Linked DNA regions of Homo sapiens: all the other regions are linked to region 2. The links are contacts of gene promoters, found by promoter capture Hi-C in blood cells and fetal thymus (Javierre and others, 2016). All regions are on one chromosome and are shown on one strand. Each heading gives the region's core, a stretch centred on a gene start or on the middle of the fragment in contact. The rest is flanking DNA. Distances are from core to core; before and after follow the strand shown.

The links. The method cuts DNA at HindIII sites, captures the fragments that hold promoters and counts their contacts. A CHiCAGO score of 5 or more calls a contact.
Region 1: a fragment that was not itself captured here is called in contact with the fragment with the promoter of PIGN in region 2 in 1 of 17 cell types (naive B cells); the score reaches 6.7 in naive B cells.
Region 3: the fragment with the promoter of BCL2 here is called in contact with the fragment with the promoter of PIGN in region 2 in 1 of 17 cell types (fetal thymus); the score reaches 8.1 in fetal thymus.
Region 4: the fragment with the promoter of KDSR here is called in contact with the fragment with the promoter of PIGN in region 2 in 1 of 17 cell types (non-activated CD4 T cells); the score reaches 5.3 in non-activated CD4 T cells.
Region 5: a contact is called between a fragment that was not itself captured here and the fragment with the promoter of PIGN in region 2, in 1 of 17 cell types (fetal thymus). The highest score is 5.9, in fetal thymus.

The regions. Positions count from the first base shown.
Region 1 is chr18:63,444,321-63,447,020 of GRCh38, forward strand. No RefSeq gene overlaps it. Among named protein-coding and RNA genes, the nearest start is that of VPS4B, 23 kb to the left of the region's middle. RefSeq lists a silencer at 421-530. The HindIII fragment of the contact is 2,224 bases long and covers 197-2,420 here.
Region 2 is chr18:62,185,754-62,188,453 of GRCh38, forward strand. It overlaps PIGN (phosphatidylinositol glycan anchor biosynthesis class N), which reads right to left and starts at 1,303. Exons shown (of 31, transcript NM_176787.5): 1 at 1,091-1,303. It overlaps RELCH (RAB11 binding and LisH domain, coiled-coil and HEAT repeat containing), which reads left to right and starts at 1,502. Exons shown (of 29, transcript NM_001346231.2): 1 at 1,502-2,278. The coding sequence starts at 1,753. RefSeq lists silencers at 805-1,017, 1,968-2,187 and an enhancer at 1,608-1,817. The HindIII fragment of the contact is 4,021 bases long and covers 1-2,700 here.
Region 3 is chr18:63,318,503-63,321,202 of GRCh38, forward strand. BCL2 (BCL2 apoptosis regulator) reads right to left here and starts at 1,267. Exons shown (of 3, transcript NM_000633.3): 1 at 672-1,267; 2 at 1-450. The coding sequence starts at 164. RefSeq lists silencers at 1-128, 1,484-1,673, 1,834-2,043, 2,074-2,143. The HindIII fragment of the contact is 7,545 bases long and covers 1-2,700 here.
Region 4 is chr18:63,365,902-63,368,736 of GRCh38, forward strand. KDSR (3-ketodihydrosphingosine reductase) reads right to left here and starts at 1,305. Exons shown (of 10, transcript NM_002035.4): 1 at 1,110-1,305. The coding sequence starts at 1,217. It overlaps KDSR-DT (KDSR divergent transcript), which reads left to right and starts at 1,423. Exons shown (of 2, transcript NR_186602.1): 1 at 1,423-1,958. LOC124904317 (a long non-coding RNA gene) reads right to left here and starts at 1,099. Exons shown (of 2, transcript XR_007066400.1): 1 at 349-1,099. RefSeq lists enhancers at 395-689, 729-1,676 and silencers at 538-587, 938-997, 1,068-1,517, 1,628-1,677. The HindIII fragment of the contact is 10,630 bases long and covers 1-2,394 here.
Region 5 is chr18:63,335,390-63,338,255 of GRCh38, forward strand. All of the region lies in intron 8 of KDSR (3-ketodihydrosphingosine reductase), which reads right to left. Among named protein-coding and RNA genes, the nearest start is that of BCL2, 17 kb to the left of the region's middle. The HindIII fragment of the contact is 6,476 bases long and covers 1-2,866 here.

The sequences.
Region 1 (2,700 bases), core at 59-2,558, 1.3 Mb after region 2:
CTGCCTCAGCCTCCCGAGTAGCTGGGATTACAGGCGCCTGCCACCATGCCCAACTGATTTTTGTATTTTTAGTAGAGATGGGGTTTCACCATGTTGGCTAGGCTGATCTCGAACTCCTGACCTCAAGTTATCCACCTGCCTCGGCTGAGATTATAGGTGTGAGCCACCTCATTCAGCCTGAAACATAGTTCTAAAAAGCTTATTTTTCATTCCTTTTTTTTCCTGTTTATTCAATTTAACAAGTGTTGTGGTTGGAAATATAGATTGCTTATTTCTTGAGTACTTACTTTTAAACCTGAGTGAATGCCTAGACATTTGAAAACTCAATAAATTAAAAGCACGTGGTAGCTTATAGAAATATTACAACACACACACACACCCAGTATGTCTGAGTGAGTCAAACGGAGTGTCTTTGCAAAATGTGCTGTCTGAATGAGACAGCGATTATGTCACTCATTGGCAATAAACACTTGTGGAGCCATCACTGAGGCTGACAGGAAGTTAAAAAAAGAGTCTCTGGGGAAACAGCTTGTTCTGCTTCTGATTCCATGAGATGTAACTATGTCTCTCGAAATGCGTACATATATATTTTATTACTTATTACCACATAAAACTTCATCCCTAAGGTAGGGTGCCCATCGTGATGATGGATTTGAGTACTAGCATTCATTCTTCAAAGGCACAGTTCAGCAACCCCATTCCTGGGGTGAATATGCGCCTGAAATGGGAGCTATTTTCTTTAATGGCCAAAACCCCCCACAGAACAACCAAAAACCACACCCAAAAATTCTTCCCCATTCTTCCTCAAAGTGTGAATTCATTCTCTTGAGCCAAGATTCACAGAAGACAAGGTGCTGGGCATCATGTAGCAGAAAAGCCCTCATTCCTAGAAGCTGGAACCCATGATCCTCTTGTTGGGGCCTGTTAGGGTGATTCTCTGTTGGAACAAACCCCACTCGGAGCTGGGCCCAGTCCCTGGGCAGAGAGCCTGCCCAGTCACATTTGTATCCTAAAGCCAAATATCTTGTCTTATGAGGAAATTAACCAGTTCTCCTAGACGTTTTATGGGAGCAGCAGAGAGGGTGGGTTTGACTGAGGAGAGAGAGAAAGAAAGGCCCAGAGAGAGGAGCCAAGCCTCATTGGCTTAGAGTTATTGGGAAAAACGTGAGTTTACATAAAGGAAAATTCTAAATTATGGAGTATCTCAAAAGAAATATAATTTAATATTTGAAAGTATGTAATAAACACAAATACCTATGGTTATTAGTCAACTAAATGAAAAGGTATAATTTTTCTTTTTTCTTTCTTTTTTTTTTTTTTCTTTTTTCTTTCTTTCTTTTTTTTGAGACAGAATCTCCCTCTGTGGCCCAGGCTGGAGTGCAGTGGCATGATCTCGGCTCACTGCAATCTTTGCCTCCCGGGTTCAAGTGATTCTCTTGCCTCAGTCTCCTGAGTAGCTGGGATTAAAAGTGTGCATCACTACACCCAGCTAATTTTTATATCTTTAGTAGAGACAGGGTTTTGCCATGTTGGCCAGGCTGGTCTTGAACTCCTGACCTCAGGTGATCCACCCGCCTTGGCCTCCCAAAGTCCTGGGATTACAGACGTGAGCCATGGTGCCCGGCCTAGACACACTCTTGTACTGCCATTACCCCTCCAGGGTTGTCATGACCTGTAACCCCAGGGGGGACTTTTTGATAGAGACGTGCTGTCTCCCTGGGCCTCCTCCAGCATTTGAGGCTCCAGTGATCCGCCCACCTGGGCCTCCCAAAGTGCTAGGATTACAGGCATGAGCCACTGCACCTGGCCTACAAAAGTATAATTTTTCTTAGTCCTACATTGTATATTAATATATCATAAACATTAAAAAGTGATTTTGAGCTTTTAAACAAATACAATTCAGTGCTATGTATACATAAGAATAAATTTTAAATTCGTGAAGTTAAAATCAAGGAAGATCTTTGGCTTGTTATTATTAATTGTTGCTTAATCATTGCAATAATAACTGCTCTAAGGTTTCTGAAAGGGCATCTGAGAGGTGACACTCTTTGCAATGGAACAATTTGAATTCAGTGACCCGTGGGACTTACTTCATTGGTAACAGACTTGGACAATACTAATTGGTCTGGAGATGGACATGTGACCAGAGTTTGGCCAATCAGCATGCTGCCTTGAGGTCTGCCTGCCTGGAGCTGGCCGGATAGAGCTTTGTGCTCTCTGGCCATGGGGTAGGTGTTGATGAAGCTGTAGGTCTCCTGTTGCCTGGGGAAAGTCCACCTGCAGCGGTAGACTGAGGCCAACATGCAGAGAGAAGCAGAGATGAAAGGAAGTGAGATAATGTCCTGCCTGGGCTAAATCCCTGGTCTTTGCCTACCCTACTTGTTTAAATGGACATATACTGTCTCCTTTCACTGTGGGCAAGCTTATGTTTCTGTTACTTGCAAGCAAAAGGATCTACCTGATCCATTACTCATTAGTATTATTTCCTTGAATTTGCAAGGAAACTGAACACTAAGGCACTGGTGTGAAGTTTGTTGTCATGTTGTACGTCGCATCTGTAGCTTCATGGGTACTCCTTTAGGTGTTTCTATGTGTTTACTTATGATTAAGGCACTGCTGATGGGAATGGTATATACTGTTTGATATATTGTTAAACAAAGTTGCACAATTGAAGGCTTGCTTTACATAGCTGGAAAGTAT
Region 2 (2,700 bases), core at 53-2,552:
TGTATTGACTGGAAATTCCTTTACCTTTTCAGATCATAATCAAGGAATGACATAAAAGATAAACGTTGATCTTCTAAACTTAGGATATGTACTTTATATGCTAACATTTCATCAAAAAAATCAAAACTCTCTGAAGCATTCAACTTTTAAAATAGTTCTAAGTTCCAAAACCTTGATTCTAGCCTGCATGAACGAGTCAGAAATGTTGCAGGAGACAGTGGATAAAGAATCGTTTGGGACATAAGAGAAATGATGTTAATTCCTTTGACTCCTTATTAGCGGAATTGATTTTTTTTTTTTTTTTTTTTTTTTTTTGAGACGGAGTCTCGTTCTGTCGCCCAGGCTGGAGTGCAGTGGCGCGACCTCGGCTCACTGCAATCTTCGCCTCCGGGGTTCAAGCGATTCTCCTGCCTCAGCCTCCTGAGTAGCTGGGATTGCAGGCTTGCGCCACCACGCCCAACTAATTTTTGTGTTTTTAGTAGAGAAGGGGTTTCACCATGTTGGTCAGGCTGGTCTCGAACTCCCGACCTCGTGATCCGCCCGGCTCGGCCTCCCAAAGTGCTGGGATTACAGGCGTGAGCCACCGCGCCCGGCGTGGAGCTGATTTTATAACAACCACTCTTGGCTTAAGTTTACTTATCTGTCTACTGGTGAGACAGCATTAGATATTCTGAAGGGTCCCTGTTGTGTAAATCGTGTATTAAATCCTAAGCGTTTATTGAGTACCTAACAATTTGTTTTCCAACTCGACGATGTTCCCAGATCCAGGCAAATGCCAACCTCAGCGTTCCCTTTTCCGTTTAGTCTCTCCAGCCCCCGTCCCCACCCACAGGCAGGACCACCTCCGGGGCTGAGAAGTCGTGCTGTCGCTAGGCCTCCCGAGTGTGCAAGCATGTGGCAGAGAAGGGAAAAGAAAGGAAGTCACATTCCGACTACAGGCCTGGGCACTTGCTATCCATGGGGACAAAATGTCACCACTGGCAGCAAATAGCGAGAAAAAGTGCAGCGCAGTAGGGAAACAGCGCGTCCGCGGGCGCGACACCACAGTTTGGGCGCCGACACCCTCCGCGCACTGGTCCCTGAACTTTACCTGGAGCTTATCCCGGTCAGGCCTGATCTCGAAAACGAGGGCTCCTCAGCGCGAAGGCAGGACCCAGCTCCATTAAAGCTCTCGGGCAGTGGTCCCCTCTACCCACTGAAGCGATAGCCGGGAGGGTATTCCTAAGCCACCACTACAACCACCCCTCAATTCCGGAACGCCCCCAATACCTGCCCGGCCGCTGCTGCTATCGCGATAATTCTCGGGCCAGTCTCCCGTCAGTCCGCTCCACGCCTTCCTTCTCTGACCAATCATGGAGGAGTCGTGGGTGGAGTTTTGCTTTTGAGCGGAGAGCGGGGCCTTCAATCTTTGCTATCTGGCGCTGGGAATGGGCGGAGCTGAAGTGGGCTGGGGCGGGGCTGGGGCGGGGCTAGATCGGGGAGAGGGGCAGGGGCACGCTCCAGTTCTCGCGAGACTGGAGACCAGGAAGACGCCTGCAGAGCCGGGCTGCTGGTGCAGCAGAGGCTGAGGCATCAGGTGCAGCTGCATCCGGATCTCCTGCCTTGGAGCGTACTCCTTGTCTCTAAGTCGGGAGGCAGGACGTGGTCAGGCCGGGGCTGTGGAGGTGCGCTGTGTCCCCTGAGGCCTAGAGGATTCGGGCTGCGGCCCGTCGGAACCAGTCAGGGAGGCGCCCACACTCCTGACAGGATAAGATGGCGGCGATGGCGCCTGGAGGTAGTGGCAGTGGTGGCGGCGTGAATCCATTTCTCAGTGATTCGGATGAGGACGATGACGAGGTAGCTGCAACAGAGGAACGGCGGGCAGTACTTCGGCTGGGCGCCGGAAGTGGCCTAGATCCTGGCTCTGCGGGCTCGCTGTCGCCACAGGATCCCGTGGCCTTAGGAAGCAGTGCGCGGCCAGGGCTCCCTGGGGAGGCGTCGGCGGCTGCAGTGGCCCTGGGGGGCACCGGGGAGACCCCGGCCCGATTATCAATTGATGCGATCGCTGCTCAGCTGTTGCGCGATCAATACTTGCTGACCGCCCTGGAGCTGCATACCGAGCTGTTAGAGAGTGGCCGGGAGCTGCCTCGGCTGCGCGACTACTTCTCCAATCCAGGCAACTTCGAGAGGCAAAGTGGAACCCCGCCGGGGATGGGGGCGCCAGGGGTCCCTGGAGCAGCCGGCGTTGGGGGCGCTGGAGGTCGGGAACCGAGTACAGCGTCGGGCGGGGGACAGCTCAGTAAGTGGACGCAGCCTGTCACACTCCGGCAGGGTATTTGGGATTGTACGGAGTTACTGTAGGGGAGAGGGGGTATTTCTGCGTGGGTCCCGATAGGGACATTTTAAGGAACGAGAGTATTGGGGTGGGGGCGCTCTTTTGCGGTGGAAGCAAGAGGATCAGGCAATGACTGTTCTCTCTGCCTGCTTCCAACCCTTGGCTGGTGTTGCACTTGGCTCCTGGCTCCCCTACTGGTGTCAGTATCTATAAAATATCAAGAGTTTCTAGTTCACTGGCTATTACGGGACTCCAGAAGGTTCCCTTTTATACTAGTTTATTGCTTTAAGCATTTTCCTTTTTCTCCAGTTACCTGAATCACACTACCAGGAAATAGTGTTACCTGAATTGCCTGCAGTAGTTCTTTGAGTCTGAGCCAGGAGAGA
Region 3 (2,700 bases), core at 17-2,516, 1.1 Mb after region 2:
TGCCCGGGCTGGGAGGAGAAGATGCCCGGTGCGGGGGCGGCCCCCGGGGGCGCGGCGCCCACATCTCCCGCATCCCACTCGTAGCCCCTCTGCGACAGCTTATAATGGATGTACTTCATCACTATCTCCCGGTTATCGTACCCTGTTCTCCCAGCGTGCGCCATCCTTCCCAGAGGAAAAGCAACGGGGGCCAACGGCACCTCTCGCCCCAGCTCCCACCCCACGGCCCCCAGAGAAAGAAGAGGAGTTATAATCCAGCTATTTTATTGGATGTGCTTTGCATTCTTGGACGAGGGGGTGTCTTCAATCACGCGGAACACTTGATTCTGGTGTTTCCCCCTTGGCATGAGATGCAGGAAATTTTTATTCCAATTCCTTTCGGATCTTTATTTCATGAGGCACGTTATTATTAGTAAGTATTGTTAATATCAGTCTACTTCCTCTGTGATGCTGAAAGGTTAAAGAAAAAACAAACTAATAAGTAAAAAATCAGGTGCGTTTCCCTGTACACACTGAGTGAAAGCAGGGCATACACACTACAAGTAACACGGCTAAAAAGAATGTATTAAGCTGCCTGGAAATTAAATTTACTCGAATGCACTTTAAGTAAAAAATCTCAAAGGTTTCCATTGAAAGTTACATTAAACCAATTTCCTGTGCAGAGAACTTACTTGTATTTTTTAAGTACAGCATGATCCTCTGTCAAGTTTCCTTTTTGTAAAACCAAAACAAATGCATAAGGCAACGATCCCATCAATCTTCAGCACTCTCCAGTTATAGCTGATTTGAAACTTCCCAATGAATCAGGAGTCGCGGGGAGAGGGAGTAAAAATTAGGAGGATTTCCAGATCGATTCCCAGACTTCTGCTTCACAGAAATGTCAATCCGCAGGAATCCCAACCGGAGATCTCAAGAGCTCGAGAAAAAAAAAAGGCAGCGGCGGCGGCAGATGAATTACAATTTTCAGTCCGGTATTCGCAGAAGTCCTGTGATGTTTTCCCCTTCTCGGCAATTTACACGCGCGCACACACGCGCGGGCACAGGCATGAATCTCTATCCACGGGACCGCTTCACGCCTCCCCAGGAGAGAGACAGGGGAGAGGGGACGATGAAGGAGCCGGGGACGGAGGCAGGAATCCTCTTCTGATTAAACTCCGAACAGCAAATGCATTTTCCGAAAAGCTGCTGGATAAATGAAGGCAGGACGCGCCTGGCCCGCCGGTGCCGAGCGCTAGAAGCCCGCGCTGTGTGTGGTGCGGCGAGGGGTGGGGAGAAGGAGGTGGTGGGGGAGGGTTTTATTTTTTCCCTCTTTTCCTAAAAAGGATGACTGCTACGAAGTTCTCCCCCCTGGACCCCCTCTTCCGCTGCACCCCACCGGCGCACCCCGCCTCCGGGCTGCGCACCCTTTCTCCTCCTCCTGGTCCTGCGCGGCGGCGCTGGCTACGGCCGCCTCCCGGAGCTCCCGCCGCGCAGCCCGCTCCGAGCGCTGACGGCCGCCGGCAGGGAGGGCCCGGAGCCCCGGCACCTTCGCTGGCAGCGGCGGCGGCGGCAGCGCGGCGGGGCCACGGAGAGCGGCGGGCGGGAGCGCGGCGGGCGGGCGGGCAGGCGGCGCGGAGGGGCGGGCGCGGGAGGAAGGGGGCGGGAGCGGGGCTGTGGTGCCTGTCCTCTTACTTCATTCTCTGCACAGCCCGACCGGTTTCCTGTGCGTAACGTCACACGGTTCATTCAAAAAAAGAAGAAAGAAAGAGCCCTCCTCTGAGCCACCCGACCGCCCCCTCCGCCCCGCTCCCTGGCCCGGGTTAAAGGCGCCGCGGCAGGCCCGGGAGTGGCGCGTCCCGCCGGGGGCACATGGCGCGCGGGGCCGCGGCCGGGGAGGGCGCGTCCGGGCCGGCCACCCGCCCGCTCCGCTGCGCCCGCGGGGCCCGGCCAGTGGGTGGCGCGGGCGGCACAGGCCTCCCGCGCGGCCGCGGCGCGGTGGGTGTGCGCGGGGCCTTCTGCTCAGGCCTGCGGCAGGCCGCGTGCGGACTTGGTGGTCGCTGGGGTCCGCGACGGGGTGGGGGCTCCCGGGGAACCGCACGCGGCCGGGCCGGGCGGACGACGGAGTGCGGAGGGGGGCGGCTGGCGGGAGGGTGCGCCATGAAAACAAGGGCTGGAAAAGCGCCGGGAACCGCCTGGACCCTTTCTGGCCGTGTGAGTGTGTGTGGAGTGTGTGTGTGTGTGTGTGTGTGTGTGTGTGTCTCGCCTGGACCTTTTCTAGCCGTGTATGTGGGAGTGTGTGTGTCGCCTGGACCCTTTCTAGCCGTGTATGAGAGTGTGTACACGCGCCTACACACACACACGTTGTGTTACCGGCGCTCGGCCGCCGGGGGAAGACCCAGGCCAATGCCGCCCCCCACCGCCCCCAGCAGTGGGACCTCAGCGCTGCCCTGCTGTGAAGACAGGTGACTCTGCACGTTTTAAGCAATGTCTAGGGACGCCCCGAGCGTGGTGTTTACTTTCAAGTAGCTTCCTAGGTGTCCGCGCACTACACACGCACGCGCATCCCCGCCCGTGTCCACCTGAACACCTAGTCCGTGGCCCAGGCCATGCAGAACTCAGCGCTCCAGGGAAGGGGTTTATCAAGGGCTTTACGACAGTTTAAGTCAATGTTTTCCCTCTGTCCCTAACACCTTTTACACTGGTTTAGTGCTACACGATGAG
Region 4 (2,835 bases), core at 55-2,554, 1.2 Mb after region 2:
AGATACATTTTCTCATTCACAAACCCTTGTACAGATTTAAAGCATACTAAGAAAAACGACCATCTTATTTTATACCAGCTCAGCGGGGAGGCTCGGATCTCCGGTGCAGAGATAGGACAGGAAGAGGTGTGCGGCCAATTTTGTAACCAACCCTCCTTACTCCTAACTCCTCGCCTCACTGTGCCTCGGGTTTGGGAGATCCAAACGAGAATGCTCGTGAGAAAGCCACTGCAAACGGGAAAGTGCTGGGCGCAGGCAAGGAGGCATTCTCTCTGTTTAAGAAAGGTGCCACATTTGCAGAACAGGGATCGCTGAATATGCGAGCTTCCGCCAAGAAATAAATCACACCTATCCACCTCTCCTTCATTCCTCGCACACAAGCCTTGTCGTTTAGCTCATCCTTCCCACTAGAAAACAGCAAAGGATTGCATTGGAGCAGCAATCAGCAGATGCCACGCTGAGCTCAGAGACAAGCAGTGTAGACGGGACAGGCGTCCCAATACCGCTAAGCCACCACCGCCAGCCCGCTGGGTTCTGAGCAGTTTCCCCAGGTGAGTCACTTCCTGGAATCCTCTGGCAGCGGCTCTTCCCGTCACTCGCACAGGCCATCTTCCAGTTCCGAGCTGCCTCGGCGGGTCCCGGCGGCTGGGACCCCACTTCCCCGCTGTCTGCCCCCGCCCGGGGCCGCGCGCCGCACCCTGCACACCACCGACCGCTGTGTCCTTGGCAAAGTTTCTCAGCCTCTCTGTGCCTCAGTTGACTCATCGGAAAAACTGAGGACAAAACATCCACATCCCAGGGATGTTGCATGGATTCACGAGCAGCCACAGAACCCCTGGGGCCCCGGGAACCCTGCGGCCGGCGGGGTCCCCCGTCGCACGCTCTCCGGCCCTAGGAGGAGCCCGAGGCTGCGGAGGGCGGGTCCGCGAGGCCGGGTGCCGGGGCCGGGGGAAAAGCGCCGGGGTGGACGGCGGCAGGTGACCTTCCCCATTTGGCCATGCCTTCCTGGGGACCGCGGCCTGGAAAAAGGGACGTAGGCTACGCGGCCTCGGCGGCGGAAAGGCCGCGCGGGCCGGTAAGTCGGGGGGCAGCAACAGGAGGCCACTCACCACCACATGCGCCCCGGGCAGGGCGAGGGGCTTGGGGCTGATGAGCGGAGACACCATGTACAGCAGCAGCACGAAGGCCACGAGGAAGGCGGCAGCCAGCAGCAGCATCGCTCCGCGGGGCCAGGGGCCCGGAGCGGCCGGGCGGGGGCCGCCGGGCAAGGCGCGCAGGGCTGGGCTGCGGCGAGGCGAGAATCACGCGCGGCGGGCGGGCGCCTGGAGTGTTTGGGTTTGCGGGCCGGGGCGGGCCGCGGCGGAGGGGAAGAGGAGGAGCCGGCGCGCGCGCCACCCAGGCGGGGCGGTGCTTCCAGGGGGCGAGTAGGCCGCCACCGCCACCGCCACCGCCACCACTGCCAGAATCGCCTCTCGGGGGTCGCCGGGTGTCTCCCACTCCCCCGGCCTCGGGACGGGGCCCGCAGTCCGCAGCCTCTCCCGTGGAAACCGGGCCTCCCGTCCCTGTGCGTCGCGAGCGGGCTCCGGACAGCGCCAGATGCGAGCGCGCCGGGAAGGGCTGCGAAGACTCGCTCTTCGGGAGCTCGAATGGCTTCTTAGGACCCCGCAGGGCGGGTTTCCAGGCCTGCCACGGCCTCCAGTGTGGGCGTGACGAGCGCTCCTCCCTGGAGTTCAGCCCTCGGCTTGGGACTGCCCGCTGGGTTGCTCGGAGGCCCCGGAGCATCGGAAAGGGCGGCTGGAGGCTCCCGGAGCGGGCTCAGCCTGGGAGCCCAGCGACTACGCTCTGAAATCCCGGGCTCCATTCCATATTTTTTGGCGTTTTTAGAAGATGGTCACGGCCCACTTTCGCTTTTCAGAGGACCGGAAAGCCTTAACAGGGAGTTTTGAGGAATCACTAAGGTAATTCAATTTCATTGAGTTCAGAGTTCATCTTTACCAAGCAGGTTCAAAACAAATAAATAACGCAAACAACTCAGCTTTATTAAGGTCTCATTCACGTACTATACCATACAATTCCCGATTTAACGTGCGTAATAGGCCGGGCGAGGTAGCTCGCGCCTGTAATCCCCGACCTTTGGGAGGCTGAGGCGGGCGGATCTCTTCAGGTCTGGAGTTCGAGACCAGCCTGGCCATGATGGTGAAACCCCCGTCTCTACTAAAAATACAAAAAATCACCCGGGCATGGTGGCGTATGCTTGTAATCCCAGCTACCCTGGAGGCTGAGGCAGGAGAATCGCTTGAACCCGGGAGGCAGAGATTGCGGTGAGATCGCGCCACTGCACTCCAGCCTGGGTGACAGATCAAGACTCCGTCTCAAAAATAAATAAATAAATAAAGCTTATAATAAATTGTCTTTAATATAGTCACAGTTGTAGACCCATCACTACCATAAATTTTAGAACATTTTTGTCACAACCCCCCAAAATCCTATACTCATTGGCAGTCACGACCCATTTCCTCCCAAGCCCCGCCCAAGCCTAAGCAATCCCTCATGTTTCTGTCTCTATAATCTTGCCTATTCGGGATATTTCACATAAATGGAATCATATAATATGTAGCCTTTTTCATCCTATCTTTCACTTACTGTAATGTTTTCAAGGTTCATCCATGATATGAAGTACTACATGTTAATACTTCATTTATTTTTATTGCCAAATAATATCCCATTGTATGACTATACGACATTTTAATTTTCCATTCATCAATTGAGGAATATTTAGGTTGTTTCCACTTTTTGACTATTAGAATTATGCTAACTGTAAATATTCATTTACCG
Region 5 (2,866 bases), core at 1-2,500, 1.1 Mb after region 2:
AATCCTAGTAATGTGGACAGAAATCAGTCGGACACATCAGAAACAGTGGAGTGTGCTCGTTCACTTTAAGTGAGATAAAATGGTCACAAAGCATTGATCAGCACTCAGAAATGGACGCACGGCCTTGGCAGATGGCAGTTCTCAACAAGTGAGTCCACGGACCCCTGCGGGCCCCCAAGGACAAATGATTGTCCTAATAACACTAAGACATTCATTGTCTTTTCCACAGTGTGTTGTATGGAAAATACAGTTTTGCCTCTGCAAAACTGCAGAGACATGGGCAAGAACCACGGGGTTCTTGCCAAACTGTACTAGGAGTCATTGTCACCTCTACTACCACACGCACTCGCAGTAATAAATAATACACAAAGAAAATACAAGTTCTAAAATTCTTTTAAAAATCAAAGTGTCAGTTTTGCTTTAAAATCCTCTTGATAAAGCAGGAAAATTCATCATTTTGTTCAATGGCAACCCTCGAGGACATGTCTTCTTAATACTCTGTGTGACAAATGAGAATGCGCCCAACGCGCTTCCGCAGCACTGCATTCCAGGGCGGGACAACTGCCTGGAACAAAAGTCCTTGTGCAGCTCCTGAAGTCAAGGGCTAAACTGCCACTTCTTTCATGGAGCATCATTTGTATTGTTTATTTATTTATTTTCGACAGAATCTCACTCTGTGGCCCAGGCTGGAATGCAGTGGTGTGATCTCTGCTCACTGCAACCTCTGCCTCCCAGGTTCAAGTGATTCTCCTGCCTCAGACTCCCAAGTAGCTGGGATTACAGGCATGCACCACCACACCCGGGTAATTTTTGTATTTTTAGTAGAGATGGGGTTTCACCATGTTGGCCAGGCTGGTCTCAAACCCCTGAGCTCAAGCAATCCAGCCGCCTCGGCCTCCAAAAGTGCTGGGATTACAGGCATGAGCCACCGTGCCTGGCTGGAGAGCATAATTTTTATATGAAAGACCATTGACAGGAAATCTATAGTAATTCAGACTTAGGTATGTGGCAGATGTGCAGAAAGCGAAGCAAGCAAGTGTGTCACTTCAGGAAAAACAACTGGCCACGTGTCATCAATGTGAAATCTGAGCCTTCAAGAAAAAATTAAGATTTGGAAAAACTAGTATCCACCATCACGAGACTGTCAGCTGCATACTTTTATGATAAGATCAGCAGTAATACTGATGAAAGCGATTTTTCTGATCACTCAGTCAACCCATATTTTCCAAATGACTAATGCATAATGTTACGAAATCATGAATGGTTAAAAGATCCATTCAAAGTACAAGACGGACCAATGGAATTTAATGTAACAGAGAACAAAACATTCATTGATGTAGTTTCCAATTCTATACTGCAACTAACCTTTAAGAAACTACCATTTGTTGAGTTTGGGTTTGATATCAAAAAAGAATGTCCATAATTATCTGAAAAGCCTAGTAAAATAGTCTTCCCTTTCCCAACTCCGTATCTGTCTCAGGCCAGATTTTCTGTATATCCTTCCATCAAAACAACATTATTACAACAGATGGAATGCAGAAGCAGCTATTTGAATCCAGCTGTTAATGCAGACCTTAAAGCAACTGGTGAAAATGTGAACCAATGCCACCGTCCTCACTGAACTTTTGTTTTGAAAAGTAGTAAATTTTGTTTAAAAAAAGTCACTTTATATATATGTGACTTTATATATATATATATGTGACTTTATATATATATATATGTGAATATATATATATATATATATATATGGAGTTTTGCTCTTGTTGCCCAGGCTGGAGCACAATGGCTCAATCTCAGCTCACTGCAGTCTCCACCTCCTGGGTTCAAGCGATTCTCCTGTCTCAGCCTCCCAAGTAGCTGGGATTACAGGCGCATGTCACCACACCCGACTAATTTTTGTATTTTTAGTAGAGACGGGGTTTCATCATATTGGTCAGGCTGGTATTGAACTCCTGACTTCAGGTGATCCGCCCGCCTTGGCCTCCCAAAGTGTTGGGATTACAGGCACGAGTCACTGTGCCCAGCCATTTTTGTTATTTTTAATGAATCAATAAATATTACAAACAGCTTCCATTTCAAATATGGCAAATATCAATAAATATAGCCATGTAAATAAACAAAAGTTCTCTGGGGTTGTTGACAATTTGTAAGAATGTAAAGTGGTCAAGAGAAGAAAAGTTTGAAAACCACTAAACTAAATGAATACTGCCAAAATACTAAGAGCTATTTAGCATCATTAGAAACACTGAATGGGCTGGGCACGGAGCTCACGCCTGTAATCCCAGCACTTTGGCCAAGAGGCTGAGGCGTGCGGATTACCCGAAATCAGGAGTTCGAGACCAGCCTGGCCAACATGGTGAAGCCCCATTTCTACTACAAATACAAAAAATTAGCCAGGTGTGGTTGTGAGCACCTGTAATCCCAGCTACTCAGAAGGCCGAGGCAGGAGAATCACTTAAACCCAGGAGGCAGAGGTTGCAGTGAGCCAAGATCGTGCCACTGCACTCCAGCCTGGGCAACAAGAGCAAAACTCCGTCTCAAAACAAACAAACAAACAAAACAACAACAACAACAAAAAACACCAAATGCATTTGCTTTGACCCGAGATAAGCAGGAAAAATAAAGTCTCACTTGTGCCATCTTCCTGAGCCTTTTAATGCACTCAGGACAAAGTTCTTCACACATGTATATATTTCAACAGAATTCACTATTCTCATTCTGCTCAGTTCAGTCTAATGTGACAGCATTTAGGCCACTTCAAGGCTGTCCACCATGTGCTGACACCTCTCATTCCAATGGTCCTATAGATTTTCCAAATTCAGTGTGGGTCTGTGGTTTACAGACATCCCTCATAAATGTGCATTTT